Regions from separate parts of the Homo sapiens genome. Here regions 1, 2, 3 and 5 are each linked to region 4. The links are contacts of gene promoters, found by promoter capture Hi-C in blood cells and fetal thymus (Javierre and others, 2016). All regions are on one chromosome and are shown on one strand. The core of a region is centred on a gene start or on the middle of the fragment in contact, and the rest is flanking DNA. Distances in the headings are between cores, read along the strand shown. Region 1 overlaps SLAMF6 (SLAM family member 6). Region 2 holds the start of CD84-AS1 (CD84 antisense RNA 1). Region 3 overlaps VANGL2 (VANGL planar cell polarity protein 2). Region 4 holds the start of LY9 (lymphocyte antigen 9). Region 5 overlaps LOC105371467 (a long non-coding RNA gene).

Region 1 (3,037 bases), core at 44-2,543, 310 kb after region 4:
GTGAGCATTCAGACTCTTAACTCTCCATCATAAAGCAGATGGGAAGAGCCAAATGGAAGAGAGAGGGGGATGGCAGAGGGCTGGATAATGACAGAGGAAGGAGTCAGAATGTCATTACTCAGACCACATGCTGTGAGGGGAGATGATCTGTAATCATGGGTCCTACATGGTTCACAGGCATAGGCATGTGAACCAGTCACTCACACAGTTTCTCTTGGTGATATCAGGTTCATTCACCACCCTGCTGATGGAGAAACTAAGTCCCAGTGAAAGGGATCATCCCTTGTCACCCAGCAAGTCCAGGGCACAGGCAGGATTAGAGCATCCAAGGCACAAAACCAAACTGTCTGACTGCATCATTACTGTTCAGCCAGGGTCTGGGCAATGGATAGACACAGTGGAAAGAGAAAACATGATATAGAAACACAAACACAGGCTCTGGACTCAGATTGGCTTTGGGTCTCATTTCATGCATGAGTGATGCATGACATCACTTGCAGAGGAAAAGGCATAAGGTTTGAAGTCAGAAGACGTGCATTTGAGTTGCTGTTTCATCACTGTCTGTATGGCTTTGCACAAGTCAGTTAAGTTTTCTGAGCCTCCAGTTCCTCATCTCCAAAATAATCAAATCCGCTGTAGAGACCTCTGAAAAGCTTAATAATATCCCAAATGTGAAATAACTGGCTCCATTATGTTTGCCAATGAGGTGTCTTTAGCCCTTCCATAGGCAGGGCTATTTGGTCCCAGGAGCTTCCTGACCCACATGTGAAGCCTGAGGGAGACTCTGAAGCTTTAGGGGACCTCAACACCACCTTCTACCCCAAGAGATGTGGTCAGAAATAGACCACATGACTGAGAAGGTTCACCCAGAGCTCCAAAGACTGTCAAGAACGAATGATCCCTCAGGAAAGGAGATGCTTCAAACACCTGCCTATCTGGGGACACAGTGTGCTCTGGGGAGGGAGAAGTCCTGGGAGAGAAGTCCCAGAGTCCTTGTGCCATTGACTGTGCCTTCCTATGTTAACAGCAGAGTCCGCAAGGAACCTAGAGTATGTTTCAGTGTCTCCAACGAACAACACTGTGTATGCTTCAGTCACTCATTCAAACAGGGTGAGTCTTTTCAGCTTTATATGCCATTGTTGTCAGTTTTACAGCCATTGTTCACAAACTTGTCACCATAACCATCTGACTGAACAAATGACCACTGAGGGGAGGAGAAGACAGCCACAGCGACAGGGGCTGCAAAGTTATGCGCTAGACCACTCTGGTGTCTGCCTTTCTCACCCTTAAGGGAATGTTTATTCATACCCTGCCTTACACAGTTCTCCAACCGCTTGATGCATCAGTAAGTCTTGTCCCTTCAGCTTAATTACAAGCTGACTGAAAGTACAAATTATGTCTTCCTCTCTCTTGCCCTATATCCTAGCATAATGATCAGTAAATACTTGCTGAATGGGTCAGAGTTCCACTAAGTTTGAAAGTTTCCTATGGACGTAGTTCCATAGCAGGTGGCTGACTTCTCACTCTGCATGTAGGGGTCTTAGGGGAGTTCAGAAGTAGTCTCTCAAGAGGGGAAGGGGGCACAGTAGAGGCCACTAAACCATGAGCAATGGTTCACCCCTCCCCTCTCATCTAGCAGCATAACAGGATGGCTGGTCAAGCATCAGCAACTCATCTGTCATGTATCAGCAACTCCCCACCACCCCTAAATAAAGGACCTGCAGGTGGCACATCTCTAAATAATACCATACATTTTGAGAGGCCAGTTTTCTGAAAAATAAGCCAGGAAAGCTTAGCATTTTCAAAATGATGTAAGCAATGATCTAGCTAGAAATCTTGGATTCCCTTCACCTATATTTGCAAAGTATGATCCTTGATGACAGGAAGCAAGAAGGGGTACTCTCACTTGCTCAGACATTTCTTTTGCCTTTGCAAATTCCTCCTGAAAACAAGTCAACTCACACTCTGACAAATCAAAAAACTAATTTCCCACAAATTGGTTAGCTTTCTCTTTAGCAAAAAGAAAAAAAAAATGTGCTTTGGAGAGTTTGAGGTTTTTTTGTTTTTTGTTGGTTTGTTTTTTGTTTTTTGGTTTTTTTTTTTTTTTGAGACAGAGTGTCACTCTGTCACCAAGGGCTGAGTGCAGTAGCACAATCACAGCTCACTGCAGCCTCAACCTCCTCATGCTCAGGTGATCCTTTTACCTTGGCCTCCCAAGTAGCTGCGACTACAGGCGAGCACCATCACATCAGGATAATTTTTCTACTTTTTGTAGAGACGGGGTTTCACCATGTTGCCCAGGCTGGTCTCAAACTTCTGCGCTCAAGTGATCCGCCTGCCTCGTCCTCCCAAAGTGTTGGGTTTACAGGCATGAGCCACTGTGCCCAGTAGAGATCTTGATAATTCTCTAAATACTTCTTCATTAATTTAAAGTGTCAAAATCTTTGAGTAGGTTCTTTGAGGGCCGTAGGGACTTCTGCTATTATTTCTGTAATGTGCATTCCAGGCAGAGCCATTCTTAAGGCCAAGTGTTCCTATTCTACCAATTCCCCATGCTTGAGAAGACCCCAATGACATGATGACAAGGCAGTTAGAATTATAGCAAAAGATGGAGCAGGCAAAATGGGTAGTTTCAGTCATAGCTAGTAAAAATTTGAGACAAAACATATAATAAACTATCTGGTATATAAGTTTTTTCTTAAAAATGGAGGAAGGAAAGTAGAGCTGGACAAAGGACAAGAATACTTCCTTCCCTTCATACAGCAAGGCTGCCTTTCTCTGGCTCTTGAGCCCATTGGTTTGCTGCAGTGTTGCTGTTCTGTTTGGGGCTCAGGAAATGCCACTAAATCCTCACAAGTTTGATAGCTAGTCGTGCTTGGTCTTCCACTGAACATTCCCCAGCCTTCCTCTGGAAGAACTTTGACATATTCTCTTTTTTGTCACACAGTCTTTCCTAAGAATATATCTATGCATTAATCTCTTTGTCTCTGTGTAAGCCAAATTGGTATGATTCTTTTTACAGGAAACAGAAATCTGG
Region 2 (3,308 bases), core at 217-2,716, 260 kb after region 4:
ACAAAAAAAAAAAAAAGCCGGGTGTGGTGGCACACACCTGTAGTCCCAGCTACTTGGAAGGCTGAGGCACGAGAATTGCTTGAACCCGGGAGGCAGAGGTTGCAGTGAGCTGAGATGGTGCCACTGCACTCCAGCCTGGGCAACAGAGCAAGACTCTTTCTCAAAAGAAAGAAAAGAAAGAAAAAAAAAAGAAAAGGAAAGGAAAGAAAGAAAGAGAGAGAGAAAGTTAGTTTATAATTAGAAGAAATTCTTTAACCTGAAAAAAAATGGAAAGATATTCAGTGGTCTAATTGCCAAAAGTGTACCAGCCTAGATGGTCTTAAGGGCTAGTCCTATCACCTACAATGAAAGGATAATTCCCAGTCATCTTAACTGTCCCAAGGCATAGAAAACAGTGGGAAGCTTCCAAATTCATTAAATACTATAATATAACACTGATTCCAAAGCCAGATAAGGATGATCCCCCACAAAGAGATACATAGGCCAGGAGTTAGCAAACTATGGCGTGTGGCCACATCCAGTCTGCCATCTGTTTTTATTTGACCCACGAACTAAGAATAGTTTACATTTTTAAAATGGTTGAAAAGAATTCAAAGAATAATAATATTTTGGGACATGTTAAAATTATGTGAAATTCAAATTTCAGCATCCATAAATAAAGTTTTATTGAAACACAGCCAACACGCATTCTTTTATGTGTTTATTATGGCTGCTTCCATACTACACCAGCAGAGTTGAGTAGTTGCAAAGGAGATTGTATGGTCCACAAAGTCCAATATTCACTACTGGGACCTTTACAGAAAAAGTCTGCCACATCCTGATATAGTCCAATCTCACTTATAAATATAAATGTTAAAAATCTTAAACTTCAGTCAATTTTAAAGCAATGCATTAAAAGAAAAAAAAATGCGACCAAGTAGGATTTTATCCTTAGAGTGCCAGGATGATTTATCTTTAAGAAACCATCTATTGTAATTTGCTGTTCAAACAGATTAAAGGAGATGAAAAAAATAATCATCCTGACATAGTCTACAATATATATTTGATAAAACTGAATACCCATGACTGATTTAAAAAGTTTTCAAGAAAGCTAAAAATAGAATGTGTTTTAGTCAATATCCAATTTTAAAAAACTGAGACCATGTTAAATACTGAAAACTCAACAAGCTGAATATAGGGAATTGATTCCAAAAGTGATGGAGGAGTAAAACAGGGAAGCTGAGGTTACCAAGCAATTAATAATTCCAGGAAGTTGCTATGGAACTTTGTCCCTATGGAAATTTGTCTTGGGAATCAGTGCTGCCAGCTTTCAAGATTCTAAGAGTTCACAGTCTCATCAAAACTGTGAGACTCTGGGAGACAAAAATAACTCACCACTGCAGATGCCACCATCAAAGCCTGATCCCACCAGTACCACACTAGCAAGACTTCTGACATGCTTGCTGGAACTGCACTGCTACACCAGGAACCCTGAAGCGGTACTCATCTTCTGCTATCACTGCCACTACTGAAAACATTACCAGAAACCAAGATTATGGAAAAATATATAATTTATTCCTTCCATCCAACTTTAACCAATACCACCCAGTGACAAAATCTAATCAGAAGCCATCTGACAATGGAAATGATAAATGTAGTTTGCAGACTTCTAACCTTCTGAAAAACAAGGAACACAGAAGGGTGGGAATAGAGCTGAGAGCAAATAAGCAAATGACTGGCTCGGGTTAAACTTTTACAACTTGATACAGCATATGTAGCAAACATTTATTGGAAACATTAGAGGCATTCTTAATAAAGAAATGAATACAAGTAACCATTCTTGTATTCAGTGAATACAAGATCACTGCTACTCTTCAACTGTATTGTATTGAAGATCCTTGTTAGTAAAGTGAGTCAAGAAATACATATAAGAGGCTATCTCACATCTAGAATCAGTCATTTTTCTAAGGGGCATTGGTTCTTCAGAGAGAATATTATTTATCCACCAAGATCTTGGATAATGTCACTAATTTTTAGTTACTTAAGAAATATGTGAACACATTTCTATCATCTTTTTAAAAATCAGTGTAAAAGTATAGAGATAGAGAGAGTGATGTCAGCAAAGTGGTGGACTAGGAAATTCCAAACTCTCTCTTTCCCCCAACTTAGAGTAATAAAAAAACAGCCAAACAAACAAAAAAAAACCCAAATGGTTGAATTAACCTTATAGGGACTCTGGAAAACAGTCAGAGTTTTATAACAACCAATCAAATGCCCAATGAAGAAAAAGCCACTTTTGAAATGGTAGGAAAAGTTCCATGGCATTTTTCTTGCCCTTGCCCCATCCCCTCCTCATCCCAACAGAAAGCTTGTTTAGAGGAGGCAGGAGTTCACTTCTCAGTTCCCTCTCTTGAATGGGAGGGAACATAACAGATCTTATTTGCAATATTCTAATCTGTCTTAGGAGTCCATGAAGAACTGGTCTCTATTTCACTTAATTCAGATCTCAAGTGGGAAAGTGCCACTACTATGAACCCAAAGCTATCAAAATAAAGAAAATAATAAAGATTAGACCAGAGATAAAATAGAGAAAATTAATGAACCAAAAAGTTGATTACTTAAAAGGATCAACGAAATTGGCAAATTTAGTTAGAGTGGTTATGGAAAAAAAGACAGAGTGCTCAAATTACTAAAATTGGAAATGAAAATGAGGACACTACAACCAATTTTTCAGAAATGAATAGAAGAGACTACTACAAACAAATTGGATAACATAGATGAAGTAGACACAATTTTTACAAAGACTGAATCATGAAGAAATAGAAAATCTGATTAGACCTATAACTACTAAGAATATTAAGTAAATAATTTTAAAACAACTTCCCAACAAGGAGAAGTCCTGGATCAGAAGGCTTCACTGGTCACCAAAGAGTTTTAAAAGATTTTACACTAATCCTTCTTAAACTCTTCTAAACATTGAAGATAAATATATTAATTCACTCTGTCTTCCATGACAAAATACCACAGACTTGGTAGCTTAAACAATTGAAATTTATTTCTCACAGTTCTGAAGGCTTCGATGTCCAAGATCAAGGTGCCAGCTGATTCAATTGCTGGTGAAACTCTCCCTGGCTTGTAGGTGGCCAACTTCTCAATACGCCCTCATGTGGTAGAGAGAGAGCAAGAACTTTAGTCTCTCCTTTCTTATCAGTATGCTTATCTCATCATGAGGGTCCCACTCACATGACCTCATCCAAACCTAATTATCTCTCAAAGTCCCCATCTCCAAATATCATCACATTGGGGGTTAGAGCTTCAATATATACATT
Region 3 (3,245 bases), core at 65-2,564, 390 kb after region 4:
TGGGCTGCAGTGAATCAACATGTTTTCACATGTCTCCCCTGGGAAAACATCTTATTTGCCCCTCCATCCCCTGTGCTTCACACTGTGCCTGGCAGATAGGAGAGAGTGCCTAATGTGGTCGGCCAAAGGAAGATCAGAACCAAAGCCTAGTTCTCCTATCCCGACTCCGACCTCTCTCCCTTAATGATGATTATCCCTCAGAATCCGAACCATCCAGCTAACATTTACTATGTGCCAGGAACTGTGCAACGTGCTTTCTCTATTATTTCATTTAATCCTCATAACCCCAAGAAGTAGGGCCTATTATTAATTCCATTTTACAGGTGAGGCTTCAAAAAGTTACCAGTTTTGTCTGATGTCACGGAATTAGACAGTGGCAAAGCCAGAATTTAAAAGCAAACCAGGGAAGAAAGCCACTTGGTGGGGGACCAGGGATTCCTTGTGGAAGGGCTCAGTCTAGGCTTGGAGGATGTGCCTTAAGACACCTAAGAGGCTGGGGAATGGGGTTTATTACTTGCCCAGATCACACCACTGTTAAGTACTAATTCCAACCAACTCTGACTCCTTTCTCTGGCCTCACAATGTGATGAACACTTGAGGGAAGGAGAAGACTGGAGTTCCCTAAAACTCAGAGGGGATCAGATCTCTTCCTTTTCCCTGCCAAAGCTTCTGTTAGTCAAGTTCCCTCCCCATTAACTGGAAGGACCTGGAAACCAGATGAGCAGATAAAAAACTGTCCTGCTCTAGGGCCAGGGAAGGGGGGATATTTCCTCAGATCTAAAAGGATCAGGAGGAGAGGCAAACACACCAGAGAGGCCTGCCCCGGAAGAATTAGAGGAAATAGAAGTCAGGAGCAAGACAATGGGTGAGGAGGGGCCAACGTGGCCACTGACTCCCAATCTGGAAGTACTTTCAGAAATGGCATTTCCTATTATCTGACCACAATTCCTCCTCTTTGGAAGAGAGCCCCCACCAGCATAATATATCATGCATGTGATCAGCGTATACAGAGCAAACAAGGGACCCCAGAGGGCCAGGGCACACCATCTTAGATGCAAGTGCCTTACTAGCCCTGGGAGCCCTAACTATCAGACAGGTGTTGGGTTTGGGGGAATGATCCATTAAAAAAAAAAAAAGGTCTTTTAAAGGTCTTTTCCTACTCTGCCCCGTTCCCCGTTCCTCGTTCAAACATTTTCTAACCCCTACTACTCTTATCTCCAGGCCTTAGGGAGGGTAGGGAGCCCTGAGGACTAAAGAGGGAACATTCCAATTGCACATGCCCATTAGAGACTCTAACATTCCAATTGCAATTGCCCAGAGACCATAATGGGTATGTACAATCTCACCTCAGCTCTTAAAACTGGGTGCCTCAACCCAGCCACTGGCAGCAAAAAGAGTGTGCAATGGGGGAAGGCTAGTATCCTAAAGAAGGAGGTGAGCAACCCCTTTCCTATACCCCAAAAGAGAAAGGATGAGAGAGGACAGGGAGAGAAGGGAGCTGTGGCTTCTTGGTGGAAAGAGACATTCACTTCCTGGATAGTCACTGACTTCCCACCACACTATCATGATGATGAGTATAGCAGTATAGCCTGCAATGGGTACCTGGCCCTTTCCCGACACACAGACACTCAGCCCTGGCCCCACACCCACAGCTCCATCTCAATCATGCTTGACACCAGGGAAAAGGGAAACTTTTTGGTCTGATAAACCACACAGACTCACTTGCAAAAGCTGCTGAAGAAACACCCTATGCCACCTTCTCAACCCCATGGGCAGGGAACCCAAGCTGTTCCCCACCAGGTCTCAACCCTCCAGACATGCTTCCTCCTCTTGTTTCCATCCCACACCAAAATCTCAAGACTCCTCAGGAACTTTAGGATCTTAGAGTCAGGGCAGAGTTAGAAGGCTATGAAGCAGCAAACTCTGAGACGGCTTTCCAAGAGAACTGTGGCCTGAAGCTTTTACCTAAGGCTGGGAATCCAAGAGTGTAGCTTCTCCAAGCGCTGGAACCCAGCCTATGACGATGGGGGAGGAAGTTCCTCTTATTCTTCTCCCTGACCCCGCCAATCTTCCAAATTCCTCTAGGACTACAACCAGACCCCTTGTTCCCTATTCCCCACAACACACGCCCTCTTCCAGAAAAACCCATCCCCCAAAAACAGGCACTTCATAAGACAACTCATTCCCTCCCACCCATAGGTCTCAGATACTTAAGGTACTACCCCTAAACCCAGGCGAGGCCATCCACGAAGTCTCAAAATCCTGCAGACAGCCTTCTTTTCGGGATTTTTGCCAGGAAAATCTGCCTGCAGAGTCTAGAGGTACCCCCGACACACACTCAGAAACATACATACCAGCTAAGGCAGGCACACACATTGATACCCATCAACACAGGTTACACACAAGAGAACACAGATTCACACCCCTTCCCAGTACACAGGTGCACACACACCTATCCACATACACTCCATTCTGCTCTTACACACCCACCTTCCTCAGTACCTACACACCTCTTTCCCGTGAACCCCTCTCCCAGTACACACACATAGACATACACGCCCTCCCCTAAGTATACATATAAACACATATCCAAACACACAGCAGATGCATGGTCAGCCGCTCCCTGGGTGCACACACACTCAAGCACAGAAAAACACCTACACATCCAAACCAGGGGCCCACCTGCAGGAACATGCAGCACGTCAAGGCGTGCACACACACCAAAACAAAGAATCATGCACACGGATCCTCCACCAACCCTTCAAAACTCACTAACGCAGAGCCCACAGTCCCCCAGATGGGTAAATATGAGTGGGGAGAGGGATGCCAGCGCCTGTCCCCTCGGCCCCTATACACAGTCTACCGCCTCCAGCCCCATCCTCGGTCTGTACATACACCCTATCTACTCTGCCCAACCCGCCCCCCTGACTCCACTCTACACCCTTAACGCATACCTGCCTCCGTCCCTCCCCACGCTCCTGAGGGGTGTATGCACCCCAAAACACCCTTGGCTTCCAATACCTCCAGACTCCGATCCTTCCACGCCTCTCCCCCCACCTCCAACACAAGCTCCCCGTCTCCGGCTTCAACCGGCTCCCCTGGGATCATTAAGGCCCCCGCCCGGGCCCAGGAAAGTCCCCGGCTCTCCAGGCCTGGGCTCCGCCCCCTCCCCACGAGCCCCTTCCCCTCCCCAAAGTTGGGGGGGGTACTCCGCTGTGCAGTGGGGAAGCGGACCGGAAGGGGGT
Region 4 (3,246 bases), core at 255-2,754:
TTGGAGATACAAAAGCATCATCCTTTCAGACCAAAAGAGTGAGATTTGAGGTCATCCTAATCAGTGGAGCCAGACCAATGGAGATGCCTCTTTGCTCTGAACTGTTTGAAATTCACTGCATTGATCATTTGCGGCTTGGATGACCTTGAATGTAGCTTATTTCAGGTTTGCTCAACACAATCAAGGAACACCCCAAAGGTTGGAGGTAAACATAAACAGCCTTGCTGCTTTCTGTGTGTTTTGATGAGCCAAGATAAAATTGAAAGTGAAAAGAGGTCAGACTGGACCTCAGCTCTGAGGTCTAGGCTCCTCGTTCACCCATATCTGCATCTAGGAGTGTTTCTAAAGCTCCCTTCAGGCACCAACTGCCAACCCCCACTGCTCTCAGATCTCTAGTGCTACCTGCACCATCATCCCTGAAGCCCTGGAGAAAGCGGGAGCACAGAAGGACAGTAGCTGCCACAGTCCCAGGTGGCTGAGATCCTCTCTGGGGTACTGGATTGGCTCTATCTGCTGGACAGTGGGGTTCCGGGCCATGCAGCGGAGAGATGTTTCCCAGGAGTTGGGCCTTGATAGGGAGGAATAAGGTTGAGGAGAAAAGGATATCCAGATAAACGCCACCTTGCCCATGGTCACCTAACCGCGTCCAGGTCCCCAGTGAAACCTCAGTAATAAAGCCAGCATATATGATAACCAAGGCAGGATACATAGAAAGAAGCTCCAGAAGTTCTCTCCATCCCTAGGAAATTGCTAGGTGGCTTCTCATCAGGGGATTTTCCTGGATCCCTCTGTGGGTTTTATCCACACCATACAGGGAACAAACTCATTATATACTTGGCATTTCTTAGGAAAATGTGAGGGCAAGAGAAATGTAGTTTGAGCCCAGAGCTATTTGAGACCGGGGCTAGAATGTTACCCCCTTCATAGTGCACGAATATGCACACATGCAAAGTAATTTCTGGCAAGGAGATGAGTTTCCCGATTTTACCAACAAGAACTGGGCTCACGCCTGTAATCCCAGCACTTCAGGTGGCTGAGCTGGGCAGATCACGAGGTCAAGAGATCGAGACCACCGTGGCCAACATAGTGAAACCCTGCCCCTACTAAAAATACAAAGATTAGCTGGGTGTGTTGGCATGCACCTGTAATCCCAGCTACTCAAGAGGCTGAGGTAGGAGAATCGCTTGAACCCAGGAGGTGGAGGTTGCAGTGAGCCGAGATTGCGCCACTTCACTCCAGCCTGGCAACAGAGTGAGACTCCGTTAAAAAAAACAAAAAACAAAAAAAAGAATCTCCCAGGCAGGGAATGCAACTGGCCTCAGAAGAACCGCAGTAGCAAGAAGTGGTGGCCATAAAGTGGACTTACCCATGAGCAGGAAGAGGAGAGAGGTCTGTAGAACAGAAGAGAATATTTGCAGCTGACTCCTCTGTGGCTTACTGGAGAAAGGCCCAGGAGCCCAGTCATCTGTGTGACTCTTTGGTGCCACCATGATGATCTATTTTCAGAACTGAGACTGAAGGAGGATGCACTTACCACAGCTTCCGCACGTGTCACAGCTTCTGCATGTGTATATGAGTGTGTGTGTGCATGTGTATGTGTATGTGTGTGTGTCTCAGAGGGAGGGTTGTTTATACAAAACACCACAGACTCCTCCCATCTGCGCAGGCAGGTAGAGGTCCCAAGTCTATTCAGGGCCTCATTTGTGACTGATGTGGAGCATCACTTGCTTTGACATCAAGGGACTTGGGTTCTAAATTTGGCTCCTAAAGGTGACTGCTAAAGATCTGTACCTCCTGGCATTCATGCCTCTGTGTAATCACCTCTTCTTTAGTGTGGCCTGGATTTAGTGACTTGCTTCAAGTGAATAGAATGTGGCAGAGATGTGGGATGGGTCACTTCTGAGATTAGGTTACAAAAAAGCTGTGACTTCCATCTTGGGTTAGCATGTGTGTGCATATGCGCTCTCTCTTTCTCTTGCCCTCTCTCCCTCTCTGTCTTTCCCACTATCTCTGTCTCCCTACCTTACACTGAGGGGAGCCAGGTATTGTTTTGTGAGATACTTTAGGGAGAGGGTTCCAAAACAAAGAACAGAGGGAGGCCCCCAGCCAACAATCGGCGAGGAGCTGATTCCTCTGGCCAACTGTCCATGAGGACTGAGGCTAGCCAAGAATCACATGAGTGAGACTGGAAGTGGATCCTCCCCAGGAGGTCCTTGAAATGACTGCAGCCCTGGCTGACACCGTGATGTTAGTTGTGTGAGTACCTTAAGCCAGAGGCACCCAGCTAAGCCATGCCCAGATTCCTTATCAAGAGAAACTGTGAGATAATAAATGTTTGGTTTTTAAATTTTTTTTCAATTTTTTATTTTTCATCAAAAATGCTTATTGTTTTTAGCTGTGAAGTTTGGGGCAATTTGTTACACAGCAACAGATAACTAATACAGTGACCCAATACATTTTCTATTTTGCTCAAGGCAGTTTGTGCTAGCTTTCTGTCACATGCAATGAAGGACTTTTAATATGGACAAAGGCATCAGGGAGACTGCAATGGGGGTGGACATCGTATGTGACAGCGTAGAGGTGACTGAGTTGAAAAGGTAGGCTGGAGAATGGCATGATTCCCTATATCCTGACTTGGGAAACTGTCTTTTTCTCCTCCTTCTTCTTGTCAGTAGCGTAATAGCTGGCCATGCTATGGTTTGTGTTTCGGGCTTCAGGTCATTTGTTTACTTAGGCTGTAACATTAAGGGGACTTGGCAGGAAAACTTGAGGCTGGCAGAATGTGTAGTTTTAGCTAATATTCGATGAAAGCTTACAGAGTGCTAGTCCATCTTCTGACACTTTAACATATTCACTCATTTGATCTTACAATAGTTTTATGAGATATCTTTTATCATCCCCATTCTATAAATGAGAAAACTGAGGTGGAGAGGGGTTAAATAGCTTACTATAAGTTTTATAGTTAGTAAGGACTTGAACCCAGGAAGTCTGGGTTCAAAGGAAGAAGGGAGAGAGAGAGAGAAACCATTAAGATAACAGGCTTATGTCCATGGAAAGCATCTTTAGAGGCTGGTCATGATCTGATGTTGCACAATATTGAAAGTGACAGAATCTCGAAAATCTTTAAATTTTGTGCACTAGGAGCGTGTCTTGTTTCACTCTAGCCTTGGTCCTGTGACTAGAACATGGGCTGTCTAGAGGGGATTGCAGGACATACGGTCAGGAGAGGTTACCAGAGCCCAGATA
Region 5 (3,383 bases), core at 171-2,670, 360 kb after region 4:
TTGCAACGCAAAGAGACTGGCAGCATTTTGGCTCTCATTCCCTCTCCTGCCACAAAGTGAAGAAGGATGTGTTTGCTTCCCCTTCCACCAGAATTGCAAGTTTCCTGAGGCCTCCCCAGCCATGAGAAACTGAGTCAATTAAACCAGTTTCGGGTATTTCTTCATAGCAGCATGAGAATAGACTAATACAGTCATGTTGGCAAAAAAATTTCTAGCCAAAGATAATTTATATTGGAAACTGCTCCTTCAATTTCTATGGCCTTTAGTGATAAGATCTCATTTTGGCCCTTTTTTTGTGTCATTATTAACGTCTCATGGATCAGTTAAGTTGCATACTGAACTGCTTTTGTATAAACTCCACACGTAAGGCCTATCTCACAACATATCATTTAAGATTCTCATAAAATCACAATTTGATACAGGTGGCACAATTTTATAGCATGAGCAACAATGACCTTACCAAACTATTTATTACATTCATAAAATTTAGACCTCTTAACAATTTTGATCTCTTGCATCAATTATCTTAGAGTTAAGTAAGGCGTGTTTAGGACCCTCAAATTTTCAGGGGTATATTAAGCTTCTTTTAGGGCCTTGCTGCTCAAAATAAGGTCTGTAGAACATCAGCAGCAGCACCTGGTGCTTTATACTGTGTTGCCCCAGAATGCATATGTTGAAGCCTAACCCCCAATTTGATGTTATTTGGAAATGCGGCCTTTGGGAGGTAATTAGATTTAGATGAGGTTATGAGACTAGGGCCCTCGTGATGGAATTAGTGCCCTTATAAGAAGAGACATAAGAAACCTCGCTCTCTCACTCTCTCTCTCTCTCTCTCTCTCTCTCTCTCTCTCTGCCATGTGAGGGCACAGCAAGAAAGCAGCATCCTATAAGCCAAGAAGAGATCCCTCATCAGATCCTAACCATGCTTGCCAGCCCAATCTCGGACTTCCAGCCTCAAGAACTATGAGGAATAAATTTCTGGATTTTAAGACCCCCAGTCAGTCTATGGTATTTTGTTACAGCAGCCTGAGCTGACTAAGACACCTGGGCACCTGTTTGAAATGAAGAAACTCAGACCCTACCCAGACCTGTTGAATCAGGGTCTGTATTTCACATAATCCCCAAGTGATTTGTACACTTGCTATACGCACCATTAAAGTTTGAAAAACTCTATTTTGGGGACCTATTTCAAGACAGAGTAAAAACCCGATGAACATTTCAATTCCAGGAAAAAGGTTGCCCAGGGTCGAATTCTTCAATATGCTCCAAACCAGAAGTACACAATCTCGTACCAGTCACTGAAAATGAATTCTACAAGCTCAGCTTTCCCTGATGATACAGTTTGGATCTGCTTTCACTTCAACTGGATTCCATCTTTGAGGCCAGAGGTACTGTGTTAAGATATAAGTAAACTGACAGAAGACAAGAAGTCCTTCAACAAGTGTTCTTTATTACAGTAAAAACCATCCCAGCCAACCCCACCCTAAAATCACACATTCTTATGTCAAAGAGAACTAACATTAACAGGAACTTGAAAGGAGTGAAAATCTTCACTAAGTTAAATCACATGTTTCCTGACTCATTTAAGTCCCCTCATGCAAATTTTTGGTTGTCACAGTATTATTGATGGACCAACAGAGCTTCAGCTTCCTCTTCAGTGGTCTTTAACAGATTTCCAAGCTCCATAGTGACACTGTTAAGGGATTCAGGGGAAACAGCACACACCTGCATTTTTTTCCCCTGAATCACAAGTACCTATAATACTATCACTTTTATTACTAGAGCGGTGTCTAGAATTAGGTAAAGTTGTGCTTGATGTCTTCTTAGTCAGGTTTTTTTAAATAGAGTTTGTTTGTAATTTATTTATTTATTTTTGAGATGGAGTCTTGCTCTGTTGCCCGGGCTGGAGTGCAGTGGCACAATCTCAGCTCACTGCAGCCTCCACCTCCCGGGTTCAAACGATTCTCATGCCTTGACCTCCCGAGTTGCTGGAATTACAGGCGCATTCCACCAAAATAATTTTTGTATTTATAGTAGAGACAGCGGGGGAGGGTTTCACCATGTGGGCCAGGCTGGTCTCGAACTCCTGATCTCAAATGTAAATAGCCTTTTTAGAGTAGTTTTAGTTTCATGTGAAAATTGAGTGGAAGGTACAGGGATTTTTTATACATGCCCTGCCCCCACACTTGCATGGACTCTCCCATTATCTACATCCCCCACCAGAGTGGTACATTTGTTCCAATTAATCACTCAAAGCTTATAATTTACATTAGGCTTCACTACTGGTACTGTATATCCTATGGGTTTGGAAAAATGTATAATGCCAAGTATCCACATTTATAGCACATACACAGTAGTTCCACTGCCCTAAAAAATCCTAAAACCACATACTTTTAACCACATACTTACCCTAAGTGAAGCAGCAGCATGACCTAATTGTGCCCAAAAGCAAGAAGGGACAATACACAACCGAAGATCTCATACTCCTAATTTTTTTTTTCTTTTTTCTTTTCTTTCTTTTCTTTTTTTTTGAGACAGAGTTTCACTCTTATCACCCAGGCTGGAGTGCAGTGGCCCAATCTCGGCTCACCACAACCTCTGCCTCCCGGGTTCAAGTGATTCTCCTGCCTCAGCCTCCCAAGTAGCTGAGATTACAGGCATGTGCCACCACGCCCAGCTAATTTTTGTATTATTAGTAGAGACGTGGTTTTACCATCTTGGCCAGGCTAGTCGCGAACTCCTGACCTCAGGTGATCCACCCGCCTCGGCCTCCCAAAGTGCTGAGATTATAAGCGTGAGCCACTGCGCCCAGCCATACTCCTAATTTTTATAACCTTATAACCAAAGTCATTCCCCTTACAGGATATCAGAGTACAGATGGCTATTTTTGACAAGTGACATCAAAATAGTTTACATATCAGGCTCAATACCCTCACACACTGTTGGCTTCAGTCTGCCTTTTACAGATGGTATTTACCACCTCCAGGAAAATAGTGTGCTTCCTCGGGTTGCCTACAACATATGACAAAATAAAATTTCCCAACTTATCTAGCAAAAGTCCCATGAGCTCCAAGGGGAGGGGGCCAATGTTTTATTTATCTTTGTATCACAATGCCTACCACACAGTAAGTGTGCCCCCAAAACTTGCTGAGATGAAATGAGAGAAGCCAATGCCTTGGCCAGGTTTCCCAACTCTAAACCAGTACCTTCTCCCACTATTCTACATACTCAAATGTGGCATTCACTGTTATGAGCAGGTAGGATGTCATGTCTGCCCTGCCGTTTGTACCAAGAGAAATGGACCCCATTCTCAGCCTGAAAAGAAACTGGGGAGCTAGACAGGGATGACTATTCTCCAAGATTTACTATGTAGGTGGTCCTTT

Evidence for each region. The method cuts DNA at HindIII sites, captures the fragments that hold promoters and counts their contacts. A CHiCAGO score of 5 or more calls a contact.
Region 1: a contact is called between a fragment that was not itself captured here and the fragment with the promoter of LY9 in region 4, in 2 of 17 cell types (total B cells and naive B cells). The highest score is 5.3, in total B cells.
Region 2: a contact is called between the fragment with the promoter of CD84-AS1 here and the fragment with the promoter of LY9 in region 4, in 11 of 17 cell types (naive CD8 T cells, non-activated CD4 T cells, total CD8 T cells and 8 more). The highest score is 14.9, in naive CD8 T cells.
Region 3: a contact is called between a fragment that was not itself captured here and the fragment with the promoter of LY9 in region 4, in 1 of 17 cell types (non-activated CD4 T cells). The highest score is 5.7, in non-activated CD4 T cells.
Region 5: a fragment that was not itself captured here is called in contact with the fragment with the promoter of LY9 in region 4 in 6 of 17 cell types (total B cells, naive CD8 T cells, non-activated CD4 T cells and 3 more); the score reaches 7.5 in total B cells.

The regions. Positions count from the first base shown.
Region 1 is chr1:160,487,161-160,490,197 of GRCh38, reverse strand. It overlaps SLAMF6 (SLAM family member 6), which reads left to right. Exons shown (of 8, transcript NM_001184714.2): 6 at 1,028-1,110; 7 at 3,023-3,037. Among named protein-coding and RNA genes, the nearest start is that of SLAMF6, 35 kb to the left of the region's middle. RefSeq lists enhancers at 559-618, 729-858. The HindIII fragment of the contact is 1,001 bases long and covers 793-1,793 here.
Region 2 is chr1:160,535,254-160,538,561 of GRCh38, reverse strand. It overlaps CD84-AS1 (CD84 antisense RNA 1), which reads right to left and starts at 1,466. Exons shown (of 2, transcript NR_188634.1): 1 at 1,375-1,466. The HindIII fragment of the contact is 1,945 bases long and covers 405-2,349 here.
Region 3 is chr1:160,401,039-160,404,283 of GRCh38, reverse strand. All of the region lies in intron 1 of VANGL2 (VANGL planar cell polarity protein 2), which reads right to left. All of the region lies in intron 3 of LOC105371466 (a long non-coding RNA gene), which reads left to right. Among named protein-coding and RNA genes, the nearest start is that of VANGL2, 2.1 kb to the right of the region's middle. The HindIII fragment of the contact is 1,292 bases long and covers 669-1,960 here.
Region 4 is chr1:160,794,432-160,797,677 of GRCh38, reverse strand. LY9 (lymphocyte antigen 9) reads right to left here and starts at 1,504. Exons shown (of 10, transcript NM_002348.4): 1 at 1,367-1,504. The coding sequence starts at 1,490. The HindIII fragment of the contact is 6,680 bases long and covers 1-2,813 here.
Region 5 is chr1:160,430,772-160,434,154 of GRCh38, reverse strand. LOC105371467 (a long non-coding RNA gene) reads left to right here. Exons shown (of 3, transcript XR_922202.3): 3 at 1,229-1,290. Among named protein-coding and RNA genes, the nearest start is that of VANGL2, 32 kb to the right of the region's middle. The HindIII fragment of the contact is 1,676 bases long and covers 583-2,258 here.